Linked DNA regions of Homo sapiens: regions 1, 2, 4, 5, 6 and 7 are each linked to region 3. The links are contacts of gene promoters, found by promoter capture Hi-C in blood cells and fetal thymus (Javierre and others, 2016). All regions are on one chromosome and are shown on one strand. Each heading gives the region's core, a stretch centred on a gene start or on the middle of the fragment in contact. The rest is flanking DNA. Distances are from core to core; before and after follow the strand shown. Region 1 holds the start of MAB21L4 (mab-21 like 4). Region 2 overlaps ATG4B (autophagy related 4B cysteine peptidase). Region 3 holds the start of HDLBP (high density lipoprotein binding protein). Region 4 overlaps ATG4B (autophagy related 4B cysteine peptidase). Region 5 holds the start of DTYMK (deoxythymidylate kinase). Region 6 overlaps ING5 (inhibitor of growth family member 5). Region 7 overlaps D2HGDH (D-2-hydroxyglutarate dehydrogenase).

Region 1 (4,101 bases), core at 1,451-3,950, 420 kb before region 3:
GCCACACACCTCATCTGCCGTGGGCCACGCACGCTCACTGCCCGTGACCTGGCAGCTTGGAAGGCAGCTGCAACTGCACCAGCCCGGCCACAGGCCACAGCCCCGGGCTGGTCTCACCGGTTCCCAGGGTGGGGGCAGCCTGACCCCTGTCACCTAGGCTGCCACTTCCCCTTTAAGGTGAGTGTCAGGAAACGATGCCTGGAATCTCCCTGCATGCCCAGCCCAGCGCAGCTTCAGGGGCTGTGGGCGCGGCCTGCAGTATCGAGTCTGCTTTCTCAGGAGGCACTCTGGGGGCGTGAGGAGCCTGGCGGCTTAGAGCAAATCCGAATGACTCAGGGCCTGGCACGGCCTCCTGCTCACCCCAATGGGTGGGCCTGTCTCACAGGTGGGGACAGGGCCAAGTGAGGTCGGGAAGAAGATAGAAATACCCACCCCATGGCCTGCATGATTAGAGGTTCAGAAGATGCTGGAGCAGGAAGCCCGAGGGGCTGGGGGCAGGGTGAGGGCTGGCTGGGAGCACCAGAAGCTGACACCCCAGAGGTCAGGTCAGTCACTTACCCCAGGGCACTAGACAGGTCTGGGGAGGGCTTCTGTTAGAATCCACCCTCCTGGCCTCCCAGCATGCAGACTGGAGGCCTGGCTATGTGCGGCGGTGGCAGCACACCCTTCCCCAGAACCCACAGGAGGTGCCCCTGCCTCCAGGCAGGCCCCAGCGCCGGGCATCCCCAAGCAGATCATGGCCTCTCGCGAAGGTGAGCTGACCCCACCCGCTGACCTCACGGAGGACATGAGGGTCAGATGAATACTAGGGAGGTGACTCGAGGCAACAAAGCCCTGTGAGGACTGTGGTGACTCACATGTGACAAATTCTGTTCCAGTCCCCAGTTCCCTTCCAGGACAACCTGACCCCCTGGAGGATGGCTGTACCACTCAGGGTCCCCATCATCCTGGCCCCTGCACAGGCTGAGCCCTGTCCTCCCAGCGACCGTCGCCGTCCAGGCAGCCCCTGCTGAAGGAGCCCTGGGCTCAGACTCACCCTGGACCATATCAACAAGGCCCCAAAGGTGGGCCTGGTGCTGTGGCTCACACCTGTAATCCCAGCACTTTGAGAGGCCCAGGTGGGCGGATCATCTGAAGTCAGAAGTTCGAGACCAGCCTGGCCAACATGGTGAAACCCTGTCTCTACTAAAAATACAAAAATTAGCTAGGCGTGGTAGCCCATGCCTGTAATCCCAGCTACTCAGGATTCTGAGGCAGGAGAATCGCTTGAACCCAGGAGGCGGAGTGAGCCAAGATCGTGCCATTGCACTCCAGCCTGGGTGACAGAGTGAGACTCAGTCTCACAAACAAACAAACAAAAGGCCCCAGAGGAGAGACTGAGGCCAGCCCCTGGTCCACGCAGAAGCCCAGCCTCAGAGCCCACTTGGGGCTCAAGACACCAATAGACAACTCAGCCATAAGCTGATAAGACACGGGCACACACCTGCACACGCATTCACACCCCTGCACTCACGCGCACGCAGGCAGGCACACACACACCCCTCCCACCTGGTGCAACATCATCAGACACTGGAAGTGGGCACGGGATGGCCTCGGGGAGCCTCGAGGTCACAGGCTGTGACTGGCAAGAGAGCCGCCTGCCCAGAGCCGTGTGAGGGACCCTCCTGCAAGGCCACCAGTGAAGCAGCTGCCCCAGACTCCAGCCACTGGACGACTGGCAGCCGTGGAACCCCCGTGCAAACACACACGACACGGAACACGTCATCTGTCTTGTTACAGGCATTTGGAGCTGGAAGACCTAAGTGAGGTCTCCCGACTTCTGTGCCCCAACACACTGTTCACACTTGCACAGTGTCACACACGTGCACACATGCCTGTGCGTGCAGTCACACACAGAAGACAGTCGCCACCCTGTGTGCACGTACATGGCAATCACACACATGTGCACTCACACACTTGCACACAGACACCCACACAGCAGCCCCTCGGTACACGCAGATACGCGTGCAGAGTGGGCTGTGCCTGTACCTGGTGCGATGAGACTGTGGTGCTTGCAGTGTACGATGGCTGCTACCAGCAGGTCCTTGAGGACACACAGGACCTTGCTGGGCACAATGTGTCCACGGCACTTGGCGTCACCCTCCGAGGAGGCAGTGAAGGTATCCTCGGTGGTCCACCGCTCCAGGCCAGCCCCTTCCCTGGGCACACCCAGGTGGCATAATTCAAGGCCATCCTCCGGCTGGGTGGCCTCTGGTTCCTCAATCAGTAGAGCCTCGGCATCCACCCACAGGGGCACCTCCATGTCCATTGGGTCCTCAGAGGAGCGCAGGGCGAACTGGAAGGCCTCCAGGCCACGGGAGTAGTCCACGATGAAGCGGGGGTCCAGGGCATGCACGCGCTCCAGCACCGTGAGCAGCACGTTCTCTGCGCGCTGGAAGTCCTGGGCACGCGGCGCCTCCCGGGACCGGATGGCCTGCAGGTAGTGGTGCCACAGGGGCACCTGCACGGCCATGGCTGAGGTGGGGAGAGCAGGGGCAGGCATCCCTTCAACAGTGGCAGGTGAGGGCCAGTGGCCCCTGAGGAGGACTCCGCAGGCCAGCTGTGCAGATGGGCTGTGAGGAGGCACCTGCCCAGGTGAGCAGCAGGTCTGCAGGTGGGGCCTCAGCTCCCACACAGCAGAATTCCAGAGTGACAGCACAGTGTGGCAGGTGAAATAGCTGAACTATTTAAGGCCTTTGAAGTGGGGGTGAGTCAGTCCCCAGCAATTGGGAATGTCACAGGGGCCATGCAGGGCAGGCGGGGGCTGGGTTTGGTTACCACCCTCCTCCCTCCCTTCAGAAGAGCTCTCTCATCTTAGGCCCAAGGCACGGCCCCTGTCCCAGCCAGGCTTGGGGTCCCTGGAGAAATATTGCCGCTGGACTGTGCCGTCCCTGGGATGGGAGCCTCTGTGTGTTGCTGATGGGCCTCCTTCCACCCTCCTCCCCACAGCCCAGGGGCCGGGTATCTGGATCAGGCCCCCCTGCCCCAGCCTCCCTGCCAGGTTGGAGGGAACACAAGGCACCCCGTGGCTCAGTGAGGAAGGGGAGGCAGGGCGGTGGCTGCCCAGACCCCGCTGTGGGGGAGCCCCCGACTCTCTAAGGCTGCCTGGAAGGCTGGGAACCTGGAGGCTGCGTCTCTGCAATGTTCCCCTCAGACACCTGTGCCCGGCTTACAGGCTGCAGTCCTGGCATGGCTCCTGCCTCTGCCCCAGCTGTGCATCCAGCCATCTGGGCCCTGGACCCCTGGGCTACCAGTCCCCACCCCACCCCACCCCACCCTGCCCAGCCTCCAACCTGAGAGGAGCTGGCACCCACCTAGCCTGGGAGCTGGAGCTCGTCTGGTTCTGGAGAAAAGCAGTCTCCGTGGCTCCACCTCACCCAGGTGGAGAAACTCGCCCCACCATCCCCCTCCAGCACCTGCACCAGGTACCCTGCCAGCCCCGCCCCCCTCCCCTGCTCAGGGCCGTGCAAGTCCCAACCAGCAGGGAGCCGCCCCATCGACCCTTGGCCCTGCCAGCTGGCCGAGTGCATCGGGTGCTCAGCCACAGGGGTGTCTGCAAACAGTGAACATGGAGATGGCCCCACAGGGGCGTCGTGGAGATGCTGCCCCTGTAGCCACCGCACGTGGGCCTCTCACCCCCCGGGGAGCTGCATCTGAGTCAGAGCTGTGGGCAGAACCAGGATCCCAGGAGGGGTGGGGCAGGGGGCAACAGCCACTCACTTCCTGGTGCTTGGAAGCCCCTATGAGGGGCTGCAGCCCAGTGAGCGGGTCTCTGCTTCCATGCCTCCCAGGACAGGGAGCTCACCACCTCACAGGGTAGCCCACGGTCAAGCGAGAGACAGATATCCCTCCTCCAAGCTGGCCCACTCCTGTTCCCTGGAGTTGCTTAGAGCACGTGTCCCCCTCCCCGAGGGCAGCCATTCAGGTTCAAGGCCCCATTTGTCCTGGGCCCTCACCCACGGCCTGCCTAGGTCCCCACACACAGCCGTGTGCCACACTCCTCCATCTCCACAGGACTCTGGCCTGGGGGAGGTGGACGCTGCTGCAGGGCAGCTGGGGTCC
Region 2 (4,073 bases), core at 57-2,556, 340 kb after region 3:
ATTGTACAAAAGCTTATGGTCATTCTCCTACTCTCTGTAGGAAGCTTGCTGTCTTCGATACGTGGAGCTCCTTGGCGGTCCACATTGCAATGGACAACACTGTTGTGATGGAGGAAATCAGTAAGTGGCTCAGAGTTTCCATGGACAAGAAAGTTGAAATCACGGGCAACATACACACTTCCTCGCCTGAGTCCCCACGGGAGCCTCGGCGAGTGTTGTCAGTCGCCCCATGCCGTGCAGGTGCTCCGTGGGGCCTGTGCGCCAAGCCAGATGCACGGTGGCCTCGCTCTCCTATCCCGGCGGTCATACCAAGAGAGGAGAGCCCAGGCTGTCTGGAGGCCGCGACTTGGTATCTCACGTCGTGTTTTGTGTCTTGGTTACAAATCGTTTATGAAGGCCCTGCTGTGCTTAGGCGCCCTCGTGTGGGAATTCTGGTGAAGTTATTTTGCGTGCCTTGATGTGCGACAGAGAGATGTAGCAACCATCTCTAGCTGCACCATCTCGAGCAAAGGCACGTCGTGAAGGCAGAGCTCTTTTCAGCTTTCTGGAAGAAAGGTCTGCTGCAACCCTGAAGGAACCTGGGCGTGGCAACATTTACATCTAGGAGGAAAACTGTGGCTCAGTTTTAACAAATGGGCTCATTGAGTGAGTTCCAAATTCATGTTTCACCTTCCATGATGTAGCCAAGCTGAGAACTCTTAAAAATGCCTCATTGCCTTTTTCACTCAGGGCCACCTTTTTCCCAAGGAACTTCTCAAAACTCCCTCAATTCCAATTTTATTGAAGTTCTACATGTAGGCTATTGCCTTGAATCCAATTTTCCATAAGAAAGAGCTCATTTAGGCCGGGCGCGGTGGCTCATGCCTGTAATCCCAGCACCTTGGGAGGCCGAGGTGGGTGGATCATGAGGTCAGGAGTTCAAGACCAGCCTGGCCAACATGGTGAAACCCCGTCTCTACTAAAAATACAGAAACTAGCTGGGCATGGTGGCACGCGCCTATAGTCCCAGCTACTCGGGAGGCTGAGGCAGAAGAATCGCTTGAACCTGGGAGGCGGAGGTTGCAGTGAGCCTTGATCACGCCACTGCACTCCAGCCTGGCCACAGAGCGAGAATCCGTCCCCCGCCCCCCAAAAAAAAGACCTCATTCAGAGCCACAGCCGTAACTGCGCACAGATTCACAGTGGGAGTGGGTCCTGCCCTGTGACTGTGGGTGTGCCAGGTCACCACACAGGTGTGTGCTGGGTCACAGACACGCCCCTTCCCTGCCTCTCCATTCTGTTTCTTCATCGTCTGGCCATCCTCGGGGGCATTGTGACACAGCGGAGGGAGTGAGGCAGGACTTTATAAGGGAGAGTGAGGCTGGCTTCTGCAGCATTGAGAGCTTTGCCACAGCAGGCTCTCCTTCCAGGATTCTGTTCCTCAGAGACTTGAACTTGGGATCATAACCAAAGGGTGTTTGTTTCTTCCATCTGCCTTTTTCCTCCATTCTGTTTCTTGAAATTTTTATAAAACATTGGAAACACAGGAAGAGTACAAAGAAAGAGAAAAATTATTGATTTTACCACTCAGAAATAACTCATATGAGCATTTTGACATTCTTACTCTCAGTATTTCTCCTGTGCTTTTCAAAAACTTACATAGTTTCCTAAGTATTTTCTCCTGGCCATGAGTGACAGCATTGTAATTATTAACTGGCTACACAATATACTATTATACCTTAGTTCCCTGTTCACTGCCCCATCCTCCCTCCCGTGTTTGGGGAAATCACTTACCCCCTCGTTCCGCACGCGTGCTCAGGATCTCACCAAGTCACACCTCAGTCCCTGGCCTCGGATTAGGGAGGCTGTTGCTGGGTGCAGTGGCCAGGAAGGCGCAAGGGTCAGGGCTTCCTAGAACCTCCGTCCCTCTGGGTGCAGGTAGCACTGGTGGGAGTGTTGGGGGCAGCTTGTCTGTGTGGACTCCAGCTCCGTCCCTTCGGGAGTCTCAGGGCTGCCCAAAGCAGTGCTGCTGAAACGTGGCTTGTCAGAGTGAGAGTGGAGTCAGGTCCTGGAAGAGCTTGAATCTGCATTTCCCAGCCCCTGGGGATGGTGGCTCCCGGGAGGATGTGGAGGCTGCCTGGTCTGACTGGCTTCGTCTCACTGCGTCAGCTGCCTGAAAGGACACTGTTCCTCACAGGAGCATGTGGAAGGTGCCTGATGCCCCCATTTAGGAAGAAAGGCATCCACATCCAGCCAGCAAAGGCACTGGCATTGATGCACAAGGCTTGGGTTTCTGGGTTCCTGAGTGTGGCGTGGTGTTGTGAGGAGGACATCGGGGTCGTTCTGAATGACCCCTACCAAAAGCCCCAGGAGGGAGTAGTGGGGGGAGGGCAGGAAGCAGGCTGCTTTTTTCAGTCGTGCTGCTAAGAGTGCGCAAGGGAGGACGTCTGAGGAAGAAGTCCGCAAAGCCGAAGCTAGAGAAACAGACGTGTCCTTGGCTAAGCAAGGACTTTTCTTCTAGTTTCTCGGAACTGCTTGTGGAAGGAGCAGTTAGATAGGAGAAGACTGATGCCATTCAGAAATTCCACTAAAGCTTCTTCCTGCAGCGAAAGAGCTGCCTGACGGTGTTCCCACTCAGATTTTAGGTGAAGCCTGTGGGGTAAGGGGAGACCTTACTGCCTACAGTGTCCCCATCCACCAACCCATCCCCCCCGCAACTCATCCTTCTGTCCACCCCCAGTCAAAGGCCAGCCAGGACATCCTTAGCATGCTCTTCTTGTCCTTAACGTTGATGGGCTTAGACCTTTCTAACGACAGTAGACAGAATGTCACTGAATGTAGGGAGGAAATACAGATTGGAAAACGTGTCAGTCTGGCAGTGAGGACAAATGACTCCAATGAAAGAAAAGTAAATACCAGAGCAAGCACAGTCAGAAACAGAGTGGGGAGGAGAATCACAATAGCTGGAACTCAACTCTCTGAGAGGCAGTGCAGCCAAATAGAGGCAGCTGAGAGCAGAGTATGTGGATTAGAACTTTTCGGGAGAGTTGGCCACTGAAGGAGTAGGAGAAAATTCCCCTGAGTTGGTGAGAGTTGAGTCTTTAGAGCTAAAGACCCCCAAATTTTTTTATCAGAAGTACTTAAACATACATGTTCCTGATAATATTTCCAAATTGCAGAAGTAAAGGGAAACTTCTCTAAACATCCAAATAATAGTATCACTACTAAGCTGCTTTGAAGAAAGGCAGTCTCAACTGGCCTGGGCATCTCATCTTTGTGCCATACCAAATGCTACTGGAAAATGTTTAGAATTCTGAGAAAAGACCTGGCTTCATGAGGTGAGAGTAGGTATGTGTACTGTGTAGTTGTCATTGATAGAGAAATATAAATTTTAAATGTGTTCAAAATATAAAGAGAACACGAGAAAATTTCAGGTGGTGGCAGGAATAGGCAAAAGCCCGTTGCACCCTGTTGACAGCAGGGTGTTTGTGACGTGGTAGGTCACACACTCAGTGCTGGGCTCTGGAGGCACAGAAGCAACCGGCCCAGCTACGCATCAGCCCTTGAGCCGATTCATGTGTTCGATCATATTCCTGAGACAGTAGGGTCTGTGCAGGTAACAAAGCACCAGTCAGCAGGAAACTCACCACCGGGAAGCCTTTCTATCAAAACATAACTTCAAAATCAGTAAAGTGGGCCGGGCATGGTGGCTCACGCCTATAATCCCAACTTCAAAATCAATAAAGCGGGCCGGGCGCGGTGGCTCACGCCTATAATCCCAACTTCAAAACCAATAAAGTGGGCCGGGCGCGGTGGCTCACGCCTATAATCCCAACTTCAAAATCAATAAAGCGGGCCGGGCATGGTGGCTCACGCCTATAATCCCAACTTCAAAACCAATAAAGCGGGCCGGGCGCGGTGGCTCACGCCTATAATCCCAGCACTTCGGGAGGCCAAGGTGGGTAGATCACATGAGGTCAGGAGTTAAAGACCAGCCTGGTCAACATCGTAAAACCCCATGTCTACTAAAAAAAAAGTTAGCTGGGCATGGTGGCACGCCCTCGTAATCCCAGCTGCTCGGGAAGCTGAGGCAC
Region 3 (3,628 bases), core at 58-2,557:
ACAAAACCCTAATTGTGACTTAACCTATCTTAATAGGGTTTTAAGGAAGTTAGCTGCTAAGAAAGTGACTATCCTTAAGCAGACACCAAATAAATGTGAAGTCATTGATTGAGGGCTTAGGGTATAGGTAGCTATGAATCTGAGGACATAAAACGCAAAACTGAGGGGCAAATCGTCATGTTCCTTAAGATTACGACTCATCCACATTCCTTCAGCCGTTTAATTTCACCATAATAGGCACTGTTTAATAAGCAAAGCCCAAGTCGACTTCCTTCGATTTTACATGGCGTCCAAACACCATGTCAAGTCTGACCCTCTCATTTTTTAAGTCGAATGGAGAGGATATGTAGCAGCTAGCCTTGAGCACCTAACCACTTTTCAAAGGAGCTACGCACAAAAATACCCTAGCAACATGCCACGGTGTCAGAAAGGCTCAGGTTCCCAACACCATGCGGGTCAGCCATTAGGAACTCAGGAAGTGTTTCCTCTAAGCGGGGGAAACCTAGGAAGGCTTCCTGAACGAGGGGTATTTGCGCCAAGCCTTGACGTGAGTCTCGAACAGTTGCAGTGCCTCCAGGCCACGCGGGAGGGAGGAAAGGACACCCCGGGCCGGGGCACAACCCGCGGGCCGGAGCCGCCCGCGCCCATCCCGCTCAGGCCGCAGCCAGGCACGGCACCCTCCCGTCCCCGAGCCACGTCGCTGCTCGTGGGCTCGCGGAGCACTCCCCAGGTCTCACCTCGGGCCCCACACCAGAAGGAGAAAGCTAGGGGCCGCGCCAGCTCCGCCCTCCCCCGCGGGGCGGCGGGCCCCAGCCCGGGCACAGGAAGGCCACGTCCCCGGGGAGGGACGCCCGACTCGATGGTCTGCGCAGGGCCCGTCGGCCCCACGTGACGTGCGCGCAGCCAATCCCAGAGAGGCCCCCCGATCATCGAGACGGCGGCGGTGGTGGGCTAGACGAGTTTCGCGCGGCCGCTCGCCGTCCCCCGCCCAGTCGTACTCGGCGCCCCAGCTCGGTGCTGCCGCCATCTTCTTGGAGGACAGGAGGAGAGGCGAAGGCTCCCCCTCCCCGTGATCGCTCCGCACTCCCGCCACCACCTGCCCTCCCGCGACCGCCTCTCTCCTCCTCAGTGGGCACTTGTCTCCTTCTAACAAACGGCCTTCCCCCCACTCCAGTTACCCACCGCAAGGCGAAGATTCTCATTACCTGTTCCACTCTTATAAGCATAAGAAAACCGAGCTCATAAGGTAGGAACTGTGGCGAAACAGGGACAAGCCGCCATCTTGGTAAAGGAGAAGAGGCTACGCTTGACCTCCCCCCCCACCCCCAGCCTCTATATGGCCAACTGCCGTGGGAGGAGCACGGCGCTTGCGCAGAGGCGGACAACGCGGACGACTCTGGGCTTGCGCACTCGGAAGCCGGCCGCATGGGGGAGGGGAAGAAGGCCAGGTCGCACTGAGCCAGGAAGCAGTTGGCAAAGGGGCGGGGTGACGCGGTGACGCAATCCGCCTGCGCGCTGGGCGGGGCGGGGCGGGCTGGGGCGGGCTGTGAGCGGACCGCGAGCGCTGGGCGGGTCCGCGGCGCGGTCGGTCGGCGCCTGTTCTCGGGCTGTTTGGCGGGTGAGTGTCTCGCCGGTGTACCCCGCACAAGTTGTGGGCCGGCCCTCCCGAGGAGCTGCGGGGGACGCGCCGCTCGTCCCATACTCTCGGGCGGTGGTCGGCTGGCTCTGGGGTGCCGGCGGGGCGGTGTGGGGGAGGGGCGGCCGAGCCCAGGCTCTTCGGCACTTATCGTGGGCTCCCCCGTCCCGGGCGGTCCTAGTGCCGGCGACAGTGGCTCCGACACGGGCAGGCCCGGGCGCGGGAGTGGGGATTCCGGTGACCCCTTGTTGACCCTGCGGGAATTCCTCTGCACTGTCGTCGGTGCTGGGCCTCGGGGCGTCGAGTGCGGTCGAGGTCGGGAGGTTTGGTGCTTGGAGGGAGGATACAGGTTTAGGCCCGACAAACACTTAGAGCTTGTGTGGCCATCTTGTCTTTCTAACGGTGCCATTTCCTCCCTGAGGCGTGGAGGACTGGCCAGCCCCCAAACCTCCAAGCCCATCGGCTGGATGCCGTGGATAAGCGAGGGGAGAGCGACTAGGCCCTGTCTGCGGGTACCTTCGGCGAGGAGAGGCGACGAAGGTCTGCACCAGCGAGGCACGGACAGGCAGCAGGGGGTAGGGTATAGGGTTGGAGGCCGCCGAGTTGGCCCGGGGATGAGGAGCAAACCTGTGGCTTCCGTGGTCTCAGTGGAGTCCCAACTGTGACCTGGCCTACTGGCCCAGACAAACCTGGCTTGCTTTTTTACCTTTTCGGTCTAATTCTTGTCAGTGCCACCAGACCTTGTCCTCTCTCCACGGAAACACACGAACCAACTACACTGAACTTCTTGTAGTTCAAACTTCTGCACCTTTGGCCATTGCCCAAACTCTTAAATCTGGCTACTTCCCACCTTAACTGCCTTCTCCTTACCTAGTCTGTGCTTGTGGGATTCCGCCCAAATTAGATTTCCTCCAGACAGGCTTAGGTGTTTACCTGATGTTCCAGATGGTATTTGTCCAGTGGACTATTGGTGCTGTGAGGGCAGGGCACATGTTGTCACCCATACTCATTGCCTCGGTTGGTGTCTAGCACCTAGTAGGTTCTCAAATACTTTTTGAATCACAGTGCCTGCCGATATATTTAATGTTTCAAAATAGTTCTGCCGTCATAAAGAAAAACATCATGGTGTAGGGGTCATGAAAGCTGATTCTTGATACTTCTGATTTGAGCCTCATTGTTTTCAGTGATTTTTGATAGCTCCCATTAATGGGTTCTTTGCACCACCCAGCATCCTAACTCATGATGTGTACTGTTATGTATAATCTTGGCATTGATCTCATTAGCTATAAAGGTTGTCCTGATTTTTTTTCCTCAACTTCCACCTTGATTTCTCTCACCAGTGCCACAGCCAGGAATAAAGAACAAGAGCGTTTTAATTAGATCAGATTTACATTCTGACTGGCTCTTAAACTAGCAAGGTGACCTAGGGAAAGGGGCCAGGGTTTCCCTCTATCATTCATAAATGTAATTCAGGGCCCCTTTTTATCCCCAATACCAGCATACAGAAACTGCTGTAAAAGAAGAAGTTGTGGGTATTTTTTTTTTTTTTTTTGTCTGGAGGAATGGGGACACCAAAACTCATTTGGCAGCAGAGGTGAGGTAAGGCCATTTGTATTGTCTGTTCTGTTAGTAGTCATACATGCCACTTATCCCTGCCCCAGTCCCTGTTAGGAGTGTTATGTGGGTATACTGAACGTGGACCTTCCCCGAATCCAAAGAATCCAGATGCTTTGAATAAGATCATGGACCTTCCGGGTTCTACATCGCCAGATGTTGTTCATCTTCTATCTTTTGTTTTGCGAAAATTGGTTTTTTATGTGTATTGGGGTTATTCTGTGGAAGAAATAAGCTGTGGGTCAAGATTAAAGAACTTTAAACAACTTCTGGCATGTGGAATAAACACGATCTGAAGGAACAAAATTTTCATTTGACTACATTTTTGGTCCAATTTGCACCCAGTGTTTAAGTTAATCACAGTGCTTGGCAGTTTGT
Region 4 (4,171 bases), core at 1,153-3,652, 330 kb after region 3:
GTCACAGTGGGTGGCTGCCCTTTGCCGGCAGAGGGCCCAGGGCCACAGTGTTACAGCCTTCTTTGTACTTGCATTCATTGGGTCCCTAGTTCTTGTCCCACGTCCAAGAAGAATGAGACTACACTTAACACTGACAATCGAAGGGTGAGGAGGGTGGAGAATAGTTTTATTGAGTGATGAAACACCCCTCAGCAGAGAGGGGACTCAAGGGTGGTCTTCCACCCAAAGTCGGGTGGTCTCCCTTGGTGTGGCTGGGTCCAGGGCTTTTATAGGCTCAGAATGGGGAGTGTGTGCTGATTTGTCTGTGAGTATGCAAAAAAGGTTAAAACAAAGTCACTACTCAAAGGTGGGCACAACAGTGTAATAAACCAATTAGAGAAAAGTAGGTATATGTAAAATAGGTGAAGGGTGGGGATTAATTAGAGGAAAGCGCACCAAACAGGAAGAGAGGTTCGCAATCCAGTCTGTGGATTTATCCGAGACTCGTCGCTTGGCTTTCAGGCTTTAAACTGTGGCTTGAAGGTTGGGTTTCACTGGTGACCCACCCCTCTCTGCCTAGGATTTGTCTGCCTCCTGCCTCTATCATTTCGATACCTTGAGGCTGGAGTATCATATGAGAGACTTGGCTAAGGTCAAAAACACGGTTCAGTGTCGATCATATGACCTAAAATGTGAAAATCATCATGTTCAAGTTGGGAGAACAGTTATGTTGTTACATGGCGATACTTTATTTTATCTTTTATTTTCCCTTGACAACTGTGTTGACATGGTGATACTTTAATAGGACACTGGATGTTGCTGCATGTGGGATCAGAGTAGAAAAGGTGTTTGCATTTAAAGGTCTCTGTTTATGCTGATAAAAACGTATATGATGTTTGTAGGATATCATGGGGAATTTTCCTTCTGACTTGATGCTGTATTTCCTTTCAGAGATGATTAATGATCTGCCCTCCTTTGATCTCTAGAGTTCTTGAAGATTCTGCCTTCCTTGACCATGTGTAATACAGTTTCTGTTCTGATAGTCATTAATTCAATACACTGTTTGTTACTGACTGTCAGATATGTGTTAGGCATTGTTCTAGACACTAGGACTAGAGAAGTAACAACATAGATGAAAACCATTGCCCTGGGGTAGCTAACGTTCTAGACATGAGACCAGCATTAGCAGCGAAGTGCGTGGCTCCTGGGGGATGGTGATTTGGGCCAAGGATGAGGAGGATTGGAATTGTAGCCAGGATGGCCAGGAAGGGTCTCACTCTGAAGGTTTAAGTTTTGACGAAGACTTAAAGCAGTGTAGGAGGAAGGGCAGGTAGCAAGAGCCTGGTGTGGCTCAGGTGCAGCGGGTGGCGGTGGGAGAAGCAGGAGCTGAGGATAGAAAGGTGACTTAGGCTCAGTGTAGTGGGGCCTTGCCAGCTCATAGTGAGGACTCGGTGTTTATTCTGAACAGGATGGCAGCTCATAGTGAGGACTCAGTGTTTATTCTGAACAGGATGGCAGCCGTTTGGAAGGTTTCATTCTAGAGGAGGAGTCACATGATAGACTGTGTTCAACAGGCTTGCTCTGGCATCTCTTTTGAGAATGTACTGCAGAGGGGCAAGGGCAGAGGCAGCGAGACCAGCTAAGAGACTGTTGAACAAGCCAGCAAGGAGATGCCAGTGGATTAGCTCAGGGTGGGTAAGAGGTTGACTTCTGCATGTGTTTTGGAGGTTGAGACAATAGAATTTGTTTGTAGATTGGAAGTTGGGAGAGGGATGGGTAGAGAGGGAGGAGTTAAAGATGGCCCCATAGTGTATGGCCTGAGCTAAGCAACTCAGATGGAGGGGGGCGGGCGTGGTGGCTCACGCCTGTAATCCCAGCACTTTGAGAGGCCGAGGTGGGCGGATCACAAGGTCAGGAGATCGAGACCATCCTGGCTAACACGGTGAAACCCCGTCGCTACTAAAAATACAAAAAATTAGCCGGGCATAGTGGCGGGCGCCTGTGATCCCAGCTACGCAGGAGGCTGAGGCAGGAGAATGGCGTGAACCCGGGAGGCGGAGCTTGCAGTGAGCCAAGACTGCGCCACTGCACTCCAGCCTGGGCGACAGAGCGAGACTCTGTCTCAAAAAAAAAAAAAAAAAGAAACTCAGATGGGGAAGACTTGGGGAGGTCCTGTCTGGTGGGAAGCTTTCTGTTGCGAGTTTGGATTTATGTGTGTTGAATGTGAGGTGGATGTTAGACATCCTTGTAGAGCAGTGTCCAGTGGGCTTTTGGGTCTACAGGTTTGGAGCTAAAAGAATAAGCCTGGGCTGGAGATAGACTGGAGGTCACATCAGATGAGGTCACCCAGGGTGTGAATGTGGGTGGGAAAGAAAAGAGGCCAAAGGCCTCTGCGGGTGTGGAGAGGTCCAGGAGGTGGCAGGCAGACCACAGTGTGGCTGTGTTCTCCACCAGTCCCTAGCACTGTCCCTAAAAGCATGCTCCCCATTCAGACGACTGGCAGGTGCCAGCACTTAAATAGCCACACTGCCCATTCCTTGAGGACAGAGCTGGTGTCTTGTGCTTGCATTTCTAGTGCATCACTTGTGTCTGGCATGTGGTTGGTAATAAAAAAAAAACAGAACTTGAATTAATAATAACCTACACATTCCCCTACTATCAAAGCTTTCAGTTTGTAGAGTTTAACATAAATCCAGTATGTTAGCATAACATGTAATGAATGCAGAGGCTGCTGGGGAGTGGTTTTTTTTTTTTTCTTGAGATGGAGTCTTGCTCTGTTTCCCAGGCTGGAGTGCGGTGGGCGCGATCTAGGGGAGTGGGTTTTAATGTGCGCAATCTGCCCAGTGTGTGCACTGAAACAGTGTTTTCTAGCTTTCTGATGTAGCTAAATTTGGAGTTCCTTTCTCTCTTTCTCTGTTTTCATTCAGGACTGAACTACTAGCATTCTCATGTAAACTCTTGGAGATTTAAAAAAAAGTAGTAATCATATGCAAACTGTTATCTTAAACCTAAGAGCTTTCTAAAGGAAAAGAAGAACCTTTGTTGAATTTATAAAATATAAATCTTTTGGAAAATAACTTCTAAGTGTTTTAGGAAGGTTTCTTCGAAATGAAGTGGTTTACAGTAAGCTCTTAAATTTACTCGTTTTTTTTTGTAGTCCTCTCTGGTTGAATGAAGTGTAATTGGTACTAAATGGAGAGAAGTTGGTTAAATTCATTGAGTACAATTCCCTACATTTCTGCCTGTCAGATTAGTAGTACTAAGTCACATGTTTTTTCTGATGGAATTACTATATTATTAAAATGCCATCTGCCCTCTTCTGCTTGTGATCGCAGAAGTCCCAGGGAAGAGGGCGTGGAAAATCAAGTGTCTGGGATCCAGCCGACCAAATGGGAGAACTGCTTCTAAGGGGGACTCTTTCTTAAGGTGTACAGCACCTCTCCGTCCTTTTTTTTTTTTTTTTTTTTTTTTTTAAGACGGAGTCTCACTGTCGCCCAGACTGGCTGGAGTGCAGTGGCTCTATCTCAGCTCACTGCAGCCTTCGCCTCCTGGGTTCAAGAGATTCTCCTGCCTCAGCCTCCCGAGTAGCTGGGATTACAGGTGTGCACCACCATGCCTGGCTAACTTTTTTATATTTTTAGTAGAGATGGGGTTTCACCATGTTGGCCAGGCTGTTCTCGAACTTCTGACCTCAAGTGATCTGCCCGCCTCGGCCTCCCAAAGTGCTGGGATTACAGGTGAACCACCACACCCAACCTACTTCTTCATCTTGTTCCTCCTGCGTGTCATCTTTTTTTGAGGCAGGGTCTCACTTCATCGCTCAGACTGGAGTATGGTGTTGCGGCCTCAGCTCATTGCAGCCTTGACCTCCTGGGCTCAAGTGATCTTCTTGCCTCACATTCCTCAGTAGCTAAGACTACAGATGTCCACGCCTAGCTATTTTTTTTTTTTTTTTTTTTTTAAGAGAGACAGGGTCTCCCTGTATTGCCCAGGCTGGTCTCAAACTCCTGGGCTCAAGTGATCCTCCCATCTTGGCTTCTTAAAGTGCTGGGATTACAGGCATGAGCCACGGCACCTGGCCTTACATGTCATCTTATTTCAAATTAATATCATTACCTGGAAGTCTAGAGATGGGTCTATATATTTATTTATGTATATATGTACATATATATATAAACATATATATACGTAT
Region 5 (3,988 bases), core at 1,489-3,988, 370 kb after region 3:
TGGCTCATGCCTGTAATCCCAGCACTGTGGGAGGCCGACGTGGGAGGATCACTTGAGGTCAGGAGTTCAAGACCACCCTGGCCAACATGGTGAAACCCTGTCTCTACTAAAACATAAAAATTAGCTGTGCATGGTCGTACGCGCCTGTAATCCCAGCTACTCAGGAGGCTGAGGCAGGAGAAATGCTTGAACCCGGGAGGCGGCGGTTGCAGTGAGCCGAGACTGAGCCACTGCACTCCAACCTGAGCAACACAACGAGACTCTTGTCTCAAAAAAAACCAAAACAAAACAACAAAAAAAAACTATCAAGCCACAGTTAGACATAGAGGAAACTTAAATATCTATTAGGGAAACAAGTAACCTGTAGGAGAATAGATGGACACAAGAGACGTAGCCCTGGGTACCTGGGATAAGATTATTATCTAAAAAGTAAAATCAGGATTATTCTTCATTTTAAATTGGGCATATACGTGTTTCATCACTTTTCTACAAAGCCACAAAAAGCAAAATCAGAAGAACAATTGCCTCCATAAATTCTAGATGTGTTAAAAAGATTATTAAAAATGGTCTCATTTTCATTTAAGACTTGGAGTGGGGACAGCCTTTCCAAGCAAGACACAAAGCTAAGCCGGAGGAGAGTAATGCAGTGTTTCATGTAACACGGATGATGAGGAACCACTGAAGATTCACCAGCAGGGAACTGGCTACACGTACCGTGGTTCTAGAGACAATGCGACGACAATTAAAGAGAATGAGAAGGGCAGAGTTAGGGGATCTGTAAGTGCAGAAATCTGTAAGGCAGAGTTAGAAAGAAAGCTGCCAAATAATTTGTATGGTATGACCTCATTTATGTTAAAAAACAAAATTCTAACTATAGTAGTTTCTACATATGTATATAAATGTAAATAAAAACATTGAAAGAACACACATCAACATTAAGTGTTGAATGAAGAGGAAACCTACTACAATGATGTAAAACAAAAAAAGGTGGTAGGAGAGTTCATATAAACTCAGTTACTAATGTATCAATATTGGTTATCAATTTTAACAAATGTAACATAACACAGCACATAAATAATGGGGAAGGGGGGAAGGCAGGGGTAGTATGTAGGGAGCGCTCTACATACTCTACTTTTTGATCAGTTTTTCTATATACCTAAAGCTATCTTTAAAACATTAAGTCTATGAGGCCAGGGGTTTGAGACCAGCCTGGGCGTGATATGGTGAGACCTTGACTCTACATTAAAAAAAAAAAAAAAAATTAGCCGGGCTTGGTAGCATGCCCCTATGGCCCTAAGCTACTCAGGATGCTGAGGTGGGAGGACTGCTTGAGCCTAGGAAGTTGAGGCTGCAGTGAGCCATGATCGGGTGCCACTGCACTCCAGCCTGGGCCACAGAGCAATACCTTGTCTTAAAAATAAAAAAAAAAGGGCCAGGTACGGTGGCTCACACCTGCGTAATCCCAGAACTTTGGGAGGCCGAGGCGAGTGGATCACAAGGTCAAGAGAGACCATCCTGGCCAACATGGTGAAACCCTGTCTCTACTAAAAATACAAAAATTAAATTTAAAAATAAAGTAAATTAAAATTGCAAAAATTAGCTGAGCATGCTGGGGCGCGCCTGTAGTCCCAGCTACTCGGGAGGCTGACGCAGGAGAATCGCTTGAACCTGGGAGGCGGAGGTTGCAGTGAGCCGAGATCACACCTCTGCCTGGCGACAGAGCGGAACTCCGTCTAAAAAAACCCGAAAAACTGAAGTCTATTAGTTATGGGGTGTGGGGAGCAGGAGGACGAAACAGCATTCATTAGCGCCCTTTGGGAACTAGGGCGCTTCACCACCTCTGCCCACAGGACTGCTAAACAGAAGAACATCAGGCCCAGCACTACTGTCACTGTCATTCAGAATCGAGTGCTGCGTTCACTGAATCTCAGGAGGAAGGAAAGTGGCAAGGGCAGAGGGAGCAGTGTGCAATGGTTTTTACACTTGTTCCCAGCGATTTGCAGAAAAAAGCAGGTGCACCGAGTGATCCTCCACGTCACTTTTCTTTTGCAAGTAGGAACTCAGAAGTTTGCCGATTTCAGTTGATCTTTCTAGAAAAAAAGAGAAACACACAAAATGCAAGTGAGATCAGGCTTTCCCTCTATATTACAATATAGTTTGGACTGAATTTCTCCCGGACTCAAGTCTCACGTTGAATTTTACTTTACTAAATCTCTAGACAGGCTTGGATCTTCTGCGGAAGCCAAAGGAATTTCTCTGAGCAATAACAGCAATCTGCAAACAAGCTGGGATGAAAAATGCTTTAGGAAAAAAGAACTCGGGTAGAAAGTAGAGACTTCAAAGAAAGCATTTATAAAATTTGTGGACTGGGTGGCCAAAGATTAAGGTCAATGCTTCACTTGAAAACTTTTAAATATATGCTATAAAACCCCTGAAAGCGCGAACAGCCATCAAACAAAACACAACACCAGAAAAACCCACAAAAACGAGACATGGATTACAAAAGAGCTGGAGGAGACTTTTGGGGGAGACACCACGGTTTCGCGCGGGTTTACACGTCAGTCATCACCATACCCCGCACTTAAAGACACGCAGCGTGGACCGGGCGCGGTGGCGCGCGCCTATGTTCCCGGCTACCCGGGAGGCTGAGGCGGGAGGATCGCTTGAGCCCGGGAGGTCCAGGCTGCCGTGGGCCGAGATGGCGCCACTGCACTCCAGCCTGGGCGACACAGGGAAAGCCCGTCTTTCAAAATAAAAACCGCACAGTTCACAGCACGCCAGCCGCAGACAACGAAGCGGAGCAAAGAGCCCCTGGGAAGGCAGAGGCACCGAAGGCCGCGGCGCACCCCCCGCCGCGCGCACCCACCCGGGAACCGGAGCAGTTCGGCGCGGTGGCCCGCGGCGCACAGCGCTTCCACCAGCTTGCGGCTCTGCGTGCTCTTCCCGGCGCGGTCCACGCCCTCCAGCACTATGAGAGCCCCGCGCCGGGCCGCCATGACTGTCCACCGCCCGCCGCTGGCGTCTCCACGCAGCCTTCCGGAGCTCCCATTGGCCGGCGTCAACAGCGCGCGCCGTGATTAGCTAGTATTTCCCGGCCTCGGCCAAATTCGAAGGGATTGGCCGGGGCCGGGGCGAGGACGACGCGCGGTGGGACCGACACCCGCGCCTGCGCCCTGGGCCGCGCCGCCACTGGAGCCGTGTCCTGGGCTTCCGGGGCGGAAACTGGGGCCCCGTGTCCCGTGCGGGCCTCCGTCCTCGGGCGAGCAGGGCCCTTCGCTCCGGGAGGGGAGGTGACGCGGCGCGGGCTGGACGGCCGGAGACGCGGGGTCAGGGCGCGGACGAGGGGAGCGCAGGGTCGGAGGGGCTCCCGGACGCTGCCCGCCCAGCGTCGGCTCTCGTTGGCCCCTGGCTGCGCGCAGCGGGCCCGACTCTCAGGGCCCTGCGGTGCCCGCTGCCAGCGTGAGGGCTCCGGTCACGCGGCGCGCGAGACGAACGAGCGAGATGCTTCCCGAAGCGCGGGGCCCAGTGCAGGGGCTCAGCCGGGGCTCCTCCCAAAGCTCACCTGGAGCCCAGCACGACTGCGTTCTGGAAACGCTGTGTTTGACAGCAGGGGCAGGATGGGGGGCTGTGTAGACGCTGGCCACGTGGCAATTGTAGGAGAACCATGGGATCGATAAATGTTCACTGTTGTCCCTGAAGCGCAAAACTGCAGGGCTCTGGAAAGTCCGTGTGTGTGTTTTTGTTGTTTTTGTTTGTTTGAGACAGAGTCTCGCTCTGTCACCCAGGCTGGAGTGCGGTGGCGCGATCTCTGCTCACTGCAACCTCCGCCTCCCGGGTTCAAGCGATTCTCCTGCCTCAGCCTCCCGAGTAGCTGGGACTGCAGGCGGCCGCCACGACGCCCGGCTAATTTTTTGTATTTTTAGTAGAGACGGGGTTTCACCGTGTTAGCCAGGATGGTCTTGATCTGACCTCGTGATCTGCCCGCCTC
Region 6 (4,136 bases), core at 1,076-3,575, 400 kb after region 3:
TATTCTGCTTACGTATATTTCTTTATGTGGATGCAAATTTCTGTCTTGTCATTTCTCCTCTACTGAAGAACTTTAACATTTTTTGCAGTACATGTATGCTGATGGTGATGAATTCTCTGTTTTTGTTTCTCTGAAAATGCTTTTATTTCACTGCGTATAGAATTTTAGGTTGACCTTTTTTCTTTTATCGCTAAAGATGTTCTCTCATTTTCTTCTGTCTTTCATTGATTCTGATGATAAATTACTGATAATAATTATTTTTGGTGGTTTCTTTTTTTTTTTTTGCTTTTAAGATTTCTCATTGTCACTGGCTCTTAACAGTTTGGTTATGATGTGTATTGGTGTGATTTTTTTGTGTATATTTTGCGTGGAACTTGTTGAGCATCTTTGAACTGTTGGTTTATACTTTGCATCGAATTTGGAAAATTTTCAGACAGTTCTTCCAGTATTTTTGTGCTCTCCTTTCTCCTCTTCCTGCTGTCCAGCTCCCTGTGCGTTCCTTAGCTTAGATTTTCTCACAGCTCACCGAGGCTCTGCTTACTTTCTGCAAGCTTTTTTCTTTCTGTACTTCAGTTTGATTTGTTTCTATTACTTTATTTATTTATGAGACAGGTTCAGGCTCTGTGGCCCAGGCTGGAGTGCGGTGGCGCAATCTCCGCTCACCGCAGCCTCTGCCTCCCGGGTTCAAGCCATTCTCCCGCCTCAGCCTTCCAAGTAGCTGGGATTACAGGTGAGCGTCACCACACCCGGCTAAGTTTTGTATTTTTAGTAGAGTCGGGGTTTCAGCCTGTTGGCCAGGCTGGTTTCAAACTCCTGGCCTCAAGTGATCCGCCCAGCTCAGCCTCTCACCTTCCCTTTCCTTCTTTCTTTCCTTCCTTCCTTTCTTCTTTCCTCCCTTCCTCCCTCCCTCCCTCACTTCCTTCCTCCTTCCCTCCCTCCCTCCCTTCCTCCCTCCCTCCCTTCCTTCCTTCCTTCCTTCTTTTCTCTTTCTGTCTTTTTTTTTTTTTTTTTGAGACGGTCTTGCTTGGTCACCCAGGCTGGAGTGCACTGGTACAATCTTGGCTCACTGCAAGCTCCGCCTCCCAAGTTCAAGCGATTCTCTGCCTCAGCCTCCCAAGTAGCTGGAATTACAGGCACGTGCCACCATGACTGGCTAATTTTGTATTTTTAGTATAGACAGGGTTTCACCGTGTTATGCAGGCTGGTCTCGAACTCCTGGCCTCAGGTGGATCTGCCTGTTTTTGGCCTCCCGATGTGCTGGGATTACAGGCGTGAGCTGCTGTGCCCGGCCCTAAGTTAGTTTTAATCTCCTTTAATACATTTTTCATTTAAGAGATTGTAGGGCTGGGTGCTTTGGCTCATGCCTGTAATCTCAGCACTTTGGAAGGCTGAGGTGGGAGGGTCACTTGAGTAGCCGGGATCACAGGCATGTGCCACCATTCCTTGGTAACCAGCTTTTAAAAAAACATAATCAGTCCTATTTCCCTGCTGAGGGTACATGTCTCATGATTTATTAGCTGTCTGACTTTAGATATAAAGGAAGCGTGGAGAGGGAAATTTCTGTTCTCCCCAGGAGGTGTTCGTTCTGTTTTAGTCCAGGCCAATAGGGCTGGGGGCCTGGGGCGGGGCAGGGTCTCAGCTTCAGCTCCACCGAGGCCCCTTGAGGACCTTGAGGTTTCCTCTCTCGCCTCCTGCCCCAGCGGCTTCCACAGTTGGTAGAAGTGCGGGGGAGGAGACCAGCGGTGCCCGAGCAGACCCCTTGCTCGAGAACTCCGAGGTTGCAGGGATTTTCCCTCTGCTTTTAGTTGCTCTGTGCAGCCTCTGGACTATAAATGTCGGTGGGGACGCGGCCGCCATGTGTGGCTGTGTGGGCTCAGCGTGGCCCAGTGGCCAGCCCAGCCCTCACTCAGTGCATGAGGCAGGCGGACGCCGCCCCCAACCCCCCAACACCCCCCACTCTGGCTGCAGGTCATCTAGCTCTTGTTGCTCCACAGCTCCCCGACATCTTTGAGAATGTGGTTTTTGTGACTTGCTGGGTTTTGTGTTTTCTAACTCAGTGGCAACAGCGTTCTGAGTCTTCCTGCTCCTTCCTGCTCGGAACCTGAAGGCCCTGTCCCGACCGTGCCTTTTCTGCGTGAAAGTGGGACTCCTCCTGGTCTCTTCCTCACCCAGTGCTGTTTCTCAAGGGTATGCTAGGCATAAGGAATGCAGGCACTGGGGGTCCTCGTGGGGGTGAAGGAGACTCCAGCTCCCTGTTGGGGTCGGGGCTTCCTCCCTGAGGGCTCTGCCCAGCTTCAGAGACCTCAGGAACAGCCAGCACCTCTGCAAACACAGGAAGATCCACTGTGGCCTCATGGCTTTTCCTGTCCTGACAGTGCGCTGACCAGCACTGTTTAGTAGCAATGCGGAGCCTGGGAGCTCAGCGCTGCCTGCCGTGCAGGTCCCAGTAGTGACAGATGAGAAGGGTGATCACCGATGGCGACAGTTGCGGGGCCCTGCGGCTCTGGATCTAGCTTGTGTGTGAATCTCTTTCTTCTCTGTGCCCCCAAGTGGCAGTGCTGCTCCTGTCCCATTGCAAGACGTCGAGACAGGCTGGTAAGGCCAGCTCTGAAGCTGGGCTCTGACGTCCAAGGCGCCAAGGAGGCCCCTTCCAGAGGGACAGGAGGATGGTGCAGGTGGGCAGACGGGTCATCCTGAGGACCAGTCGGTTGGACCCAAAGCCTGGCCTGCCGGGGCGGGAGTGTGCACTCGGGTGCCTCCAAGGGCATCATCCTGGGTGTGTGCAGGAGCCCGCCTGCCCCTGGGCTCTGGAGTTCTGTGGTGCGCGTCCCTGACCCATCAGCACAGTGGGTATTCACGCCCCTCGTGGTCACGCTGTGGTGCCAGGCCGCTCTGCCTCAAGGCAGGTCCTGTTCCCTGCTGGGGACCCAGGCGCACGCACCATCCTGTCCCTGTGGACTGCCCTCTTCAGGCCTGTTCCCCACGTGCCCGGGGCTCTTCCTGGAATGCAGTGTTCCTAGACTGCACAGATGCTCCGTGTCTCGTCTGAGATCCCGTGACCTGAGGCTGCCCCCTGCACTGTTGCTGCCCTGTGGCCTTGCTCTGGCGAGGCAGAACCTGTGTGTGTGGATGAAGGGCAGTGTCACCTGTAGCACCTGGAATCCCGGGGCTTGGACAGGCAGCCAGCCCCCTGCTAGGAGCCACGTGGAGTGCTGGGAAGCCATCGGGGCCGGGCGCGGAAGGGCTCGCTGGCACCGTCTGGCGAGGGGTGCCTGCCACACCCTGGGGAGTTAGCACAGAGGGTGCCTCTTGTGGCAGTGGTGCTGAAGGGAGTCAGCAGCCGCTGACAGTTGGGGTCACCCTGGCCTGTGCAAGGGACAGGGCTCCCCATGGCCTCCTGGTTGCCTCCCTCAGGGCTGATAGCAGCACTCCCTGGCCACACGCCATGGCGCTCCCTCAGGCGAGACTGAGAGGCCAGTGAGGCCTGCACGGTGGCCTCAGCTTCTGGGGTGCCCTTGCTGGGCGGTCCCCTCAGGCCCCCGGCCCTCTCCCACAGCCATCAAATCTGGCCAGCGCCCTCGAACCTGGTGATGCTGAGACACAGGTCAAGTGGCAGCTCAAGATGTCAGGTCGGGCTTTGTGGACAGAATTGGACTCGGCGCAGAAGAGGAGGGCGTCAGCGTTTCGGGGACGGTTGGCAGCAGAGGGTGCTGCCCTGCTCTCCGCGGGTGAGAGGTGACTCGAGGAGACCGCAGGAGCCCCTTGGAGGTGAAGCCACAGGTGGCATCCCGGAATCGGCAGGAGGCTGAGACGTAGACCCTTGCGTGCTGCTGTCAGAGGAGAGACCCGAAGACTACTTGAGACTGTTGCTTGAAAGCAGTGTCGGCAGCACCTGGACCTGGACTTGTGACGCTGATGGATTTCAGCTCTAAAGAGAAACCCCTGTCTATTCCCAGACAGAGAGAAAGAGCAGAAGAGCAGATTACCTGCAAAGGACAGACTTAGGTGGGCGCCCCTGTGCCAGAGGGCAGCGGGGAGGCCGGGTGCATGCTGAGCCCGAGTGTGTGTGTATGTGTACAGGCAATTGCAAAGGCGTAGAAAAGCTTTAGACAGGTATCCAAGGAAAAGCTGAGTGT
Region 7 (3,780 bases), core at 984-3,483, 430 kb after region 3:
GGGCAGTGAGCTGCTGTGTGTGGAGGGTGTCACTCGTACAGGAGGAAAGTCCATCCTTCAGCCTCTTGGCATGACCTCAGGCTGCTGCAGAAGTGACACCTGGCCCCGGAGGCGACCGACGTCTTGTCAGGAGGCTGGCAGGTGGGTGAACGTGCTTCTCTTTGCCCCAAGGTGCTGGCCGACGGCACTGTCCTGGACTGCCTGACCTCCCTGAGGAAGGACAACACGGGCTATGACCTGAAGCAGCTGTTCATCGGGTCGGAGGGCACTTTGGGGATCATCACCACGGTGTCCATCTTGTGTCCACCCAAGCCCAGGGCTGTGAACGTGGCTTTCCTCGGTGGGCTTCCTCGATGTGTGCCTTGAGATGGGTGGTTGGGCTCGAGCGTCTGCTCTGATGGTGCCACTGTTGGTGTGAGGAAGGGGATGGAGGGACCCCCCGCCAAGGACAGTCGGTTCCCGTGTCTCCTGACATCTCTGCTTCCAAAGGAATCAGGAATCCAGGACCTGGCCTTCCTGGTGGTCATGGGTAAAGGTGTAGAGTGAGGCCTCTCTCTGTCTCTGGTCAGAGGACACTTCATTTCATAAGAAAACAGGCTTGTGTTGCCTCATTCACCCCATCGTGTTGGTTGAGTAGCTTGTGGAGTAAGGTTGAGGGACATGCTGTCATTTGGCATCAGTTCAGGACACCACTCTTAGTTACTGTGGGGATAAAGAATTCCCTCCTGTAATGGGGGGCTTCCCCAGTCAGCCCAGACTGGGGGTCTCAGCAGACCTGCCTGCTGCTGTGTCTCCACAGGCCTGCTTCACTCACAGCCACTTCTTCGGTTCTCCTGGGACCTGCCTGCGGCTCCTTTCTTGCTTCATTTGAATCGGGCGGGTTTATCCAGCATTTCCTCCTCAGGAGTTCAGAAGTCGCACAGCCCGGCAGTCTTCGCGCGGGAGGTGGCGGGTCTAGCTCACCAACTCCCAGTTCGGTGTCTTGAGCTGCCAGAAGCTTGGGCAGCCCTGGAGGATGCTGAGACTCCGCATGCTTGTTCCTTCAGCCACTTACATCTTCTTGTTGTGATGTGTGTTCCGTATTTTAAGCAATCTCACCAGGATTATTATTTTATGGCCACTTTCTCTGCCCTCCACTCTCTTGTGTCCGATCTTCTGTCTGGGATTATGTTGCAAACATATCCTCGTTCATTTCCTGCAGTAAAGGTCTCCTGGTGACCACTTCTTCACTTCTGGCGTGTCTGAAAATACCTTTATTTCATCCTCATTCTTGAAGGCTCTTTTCCACAGGCGCATGGCTTCAGGCTGTTGTTTGTTTTCTTTTATCCCGGTGGAAACGCTGACCCGCTGTCCTCTGGCCTCCTCGCTGTTGGGAACTTTGCTGTCGGTAGCTGCTGCTGTGAAGGGATTCTGCCTCTCTCCTGGCCCCCCTTGGGCCACTTAAAGATCATTCTTTCTGATCTTCTAAAGTTTTCAGTGTGTGGTGTGTGTGTGTACGTTCTTTTTCATCTCCTTGGAATTACTGAATTTCTTAAACCTGTGGCTTGGTATCTTTTACCAGTTCTAGAAATTCTTAGCCATTATTGCTTCAGATATTGTCTGTGTTTTCCTCTCCTTTTGGGACTGTGATTCAGGATAGAATGTCTCAGTCCGTCTTCTGTGTCTCTTAATCTCCCCTCCATATTGTCATCATCGTGTCTCTCTGTGCTGCATTCTGTGTGATTTCTTCTCATCTGTCTTCCAGTTCACGAATGCCCTCTTCTGCTGTGTTTTATTTGCTGCTGAACCCCTCCATGAGTGGTTCCCTCCGTCCATTGAGTTTTACATTTTGATTATGAAAGTTTTTATTTCTAAAAGTTTTGTTATTTTTGTCAAATCTGCAATGTTACTTTTTATAGTTTTCTATTCTAGGTATTCTCAAGCTCACCATTTGTGTCTTTAAACATAGTTTGACGTCTATAATCCCAGCACTTTGGGAGGCCAAGGCGGGTGGGTCATTTGAGGTCAGGAGTTTGAGACCAGTCTGGCCAACATGATGAAACCCTGTCTCTACTAAAAGTACAAAAATTAGGCTGGGCACAGTAGTTCACACCTGTAATCCCAGCACTTTGGGAGGCTGAGGCAGGTGGATCACGAGGTCAGGAGTTTGAGACCAGCCTGGTCAACAAGGTGAAACCCCATCTCTACTAAAAATACAAAAATTAGCCGGGCATGGTGGTGGACGCCTGTAATCCCAGCTACTTGGGAGGCTGAGGCAGGAGAATTGCTTCAGACCATAAGGCAGAGGTTACAGTGGGCTGAGATCATGCCACTGCACTCCAGCCTGGGTGACAGAGCAAGACTCCATCTCAAAAAAAAAAAAAAAAACTTTGAATAATTTTTTGTGATGTTTTATAATCAGGCAATTCCATTTTTTCAAGTCTGTGTAGTCTGTGAAAGTTTTTTTTAGAGACAAGGTCTCACTCTGTTGCCCAAGCTGAAGTGCAGTGGTGTGATCATAGCCCCTGGGTTCAAGCCATCCTCTTGAGTAGCTGGGATTACAGGTGCACACCACCATGCCTAGGTAATTAAAAAAAATTTTGTATGTAGAAACAGGGTCTCATGTAACTCCTGGGCTAAACGATCCTCCCACTGTGGCCTCCTAAAGTGCGGGGGTTATAGGTGTGAGCCTGAGCCGCTGCACCCAGCCTGTGTGGTCTGTTTTTAGTGTCTGTTGTTTCTGCTGGTTCATGCTCCTGGCTCCTTAGTTTCTTGTGTGCTTGGCTGTCTGTGGCAGTGTGCAGCTCATTATGTTTGAAGAATTATTTGTAGGGGTTCCTAGATGCCAAAGACGAGGTACCTTCCTCCAGAGAGGGTTTGCTTTTGCTTTTGCTTTTGCTAGGTGTCTTTGGGTCTGTTCAGCCTGAGAGTGACCAAGTTCACAGGATGAAATTCTGTGAAACTCCCAGGTAGCAAGTCAGTGTAGGGCTGTGTCGGGCTGATCCATGGTCATGATTTATCAGGAGAGTGTTTTTTTTTTTTTTTACATTATTCTTCTGTATTTTTTTGAGAGACAAGGTCTCACTCTGTCATCCAGGCTGGAGTGCAGTGGTGCAATCGTGGCTCACTGCAGCCTTGAACTCCTGCACTGAAGGGATCCTCCTGCCTCCCTAGTAGCTGGGACCAGGTGTGTACCACCATACCTGGCTACATTTTTAAAATTGTTTTATAGAGACAGGGTCTCCCATGATGCCCAGGCTGGTCTTGAACTCCTGAGCTCAAACAATTCTCCTGCCTTGGCCTCCCAAAGTGCTGGGGCTACAGGCATGAGCACCTGCGTCGGGCTCCATTCTGCTTTTTTCTCATTCTGTTCAGCCATTTCCCCTGCAGTCTTCGGGGCAAGTTGGTTGGGACAGGCTTGCTTCTGGCCCTGACTTCTAAGATGTGGCCCTGTGGGGGTCTCCTGGATTCCTCACTCTGGGTAGGCTGGGAAGCTTGAGGCCAAACCTGCTAGCGGGGCAAGGGCTGTCGGCCAACAGCGTTGACTTGGTGCTACTCAGCCCCCAGGTCAGGCTCTTCCCTCGCTCTTGATGCTCTTCAGCGTTTTTTTGTTTTTGTTTTTGAGACAGAGTCTCACTCTTGTCACCAAGGCTGGAGTGCAGTGGCACAATCTTGGCTCACTGAAACCTCCGCCTCCTGGTTCAAGCGATTCTCCTGCCTCAGCCTCCCAAGTAGCTGGGATTACAGGCGCCCACCATCACGCCCAGCTAATTTTTGTATTTTTAGTAGAGACAGGGTTTT

Evidence for each region. The method cuts DNA at HindIII sites, captures the fragments that hold promoters and counts their contacts. A CHiCAGO score of 5 or more calls a contact.
Region 1: a contact is called between the fragment with the promoter of MAB21L4 here and the fragment with the promoter of HDLBP in region 3, in 1 of 17 cell types (naive CD8 T cells). The highest score is 5.1, in naive CD8 T cells.
Region 2: a fragment that was not itself captured here is called in contact with the fragment with the promoter of HDLBP in region 3 in 2 of 17 cell types (megakaryocytes and erythroblasts); the score reaches 5.6 in megakaryocytes.
Region 4: a fragment that was not itself captured here is called in contact with the fragment with the promoter of HDLBP in region 3 in 6 of 17 cell types (neutrophils, naive B cells, erythroblasts and 3 more); the score reaches 8.5 in neutrophils.
Region 5: a contact is called between a fragment that was not itself captured here and the fragment with the promoter of HDLBP in region 3, in 1 of 17 cell types (neutrophils). The highest score is 8.1, in neutrophils.
Region 6: a contact is called between a fragment that was not itself captured here and the fragment with the promoter of HDLBP in region 3, in 1 of 17 cell types (neutrophils). The highest score is 8.5, in neutrophils.
Region 7: a fragment that was not itself captured here is called in contact with the fragment with the promoter of HDLBP in region 3 in 1 of 17 cell types (neutrophils); the score reaches 5.8 in neutrophils.

Annotation. Positions count from the first base shown.
Region 1 is chr2:240,893,456-240,897,556 of GRCh38, forward strand. MAB21L4 (mab-21 like 4) reads right to left here and starts at 2,701. Exons shown (of 5, transcript NM_001085437.3): 1 at 2,029-2,701. The coding sequence starts at 2,542. RefSeq lists enhancers at 1,329-1,964, 3,237-3,872. The HindIII fragment of the contact is 9,523 bases long and covers 1-4,101 here.
Region 2 is chr2:241,659,068-241,663,140 of GRCh38, forward strand. ATG4B (autophagy related 4B cysteine peptidase) reads left to right here. Exons shown (of 13, transcript NM_013325.5): 7 at 41-120. Among named protein-coding and RNA genes, the nearest start is that of ATG4B, 23 kb to the left of the region's middle. RefSeq lists enhancers at 1,557-2,058, 2,059-2,558. The HindIII fragment of the contact is 2,528 bases long and covers 43-2,570 here.
Region 3 is chr2:241,314,365-241,317,992 of GRCh38, forward strand. HDLBP (high density lipoprotein binding protein) reads right to left here and starts at 1,308. Exons shown (of 28, transcript NM_005336.6): 1 at 1,206-1,308. SEPTIN2 (septin 2) reads left to right here and starts at 1,561. Exons shown (of 13, transcript NM_004404.5): 1 at 1,561-1,618. RefSeq lists enhancers at 284-333, 1,214-1,263, 1,284-1,383, 1,309-2,033, 2,024-2,083 and 1 more and silencers at 564-943, 1,484-1,833. The HindIII fragment of the contact is 7,846 bases long and covers 1-3,628 here.
Region 4 is chr2:241,639,447-241,643,617 of GRCh38, forward strand. All of the region lies in intron 1 of ATG4B (autophagy related 4B cysteine peptidase), which reads left to right. Among named protein-coding and RNA genes, the nearest start is that of ATG4B, 3.8 kb to the left of the region's middle. The HindIII fragment of the contact is 477 bases long and covers 2,165-2,641 here.
Region 5 is chr2:241,683,788-241,687,775 of GRCh38, forward strand. It overlaps DTYMK (deoxythymidylate kinase), which reads right to left and starts at 3,028. Exons shown (of 5, transcript NM_012145.4): 1 at 2,867-3,028; 2 at 1,982-2,090. The coding sequence starts at 2,996. It also overlaps a transcript of ING5 not described here. RefSeq lists silencers at 2,618-2,927, 2,975-3,237, 2,988-3,517. The HindIII fragment of the contact is 5,811 bases long and covers 1-3,988 here.
Region 6 is chr2:241,717,426-241,721,561 of GRCh38, forward strand. The region is part of intron 5 of ING5 (inhibitor of growth family member 5); the gene reads left to right. Among named protein-coding and RNA genes, the nearest start is that of D2HGDH, 15 kb to the right of the region's middle. The HindIII fragment of the contact is 3,552 bases long and covers 550-4,101 here.
Region 7 is chr2:241,744,538-241,748,317 of GRCh38, forward strand. D2HGDH (D-2-hydroxyglutarate dehydrogenase) reads left to right here. Exons shown (of 10, transcript NM_152783.5): 6 at 172-340. Among named protein-coding and RNA genes, the nearest start is that of D2HGDH, 12 kb to the left of the region's middle. The HindIII fragment of the contact is 2,476 bases long and covers 996-3,471 here.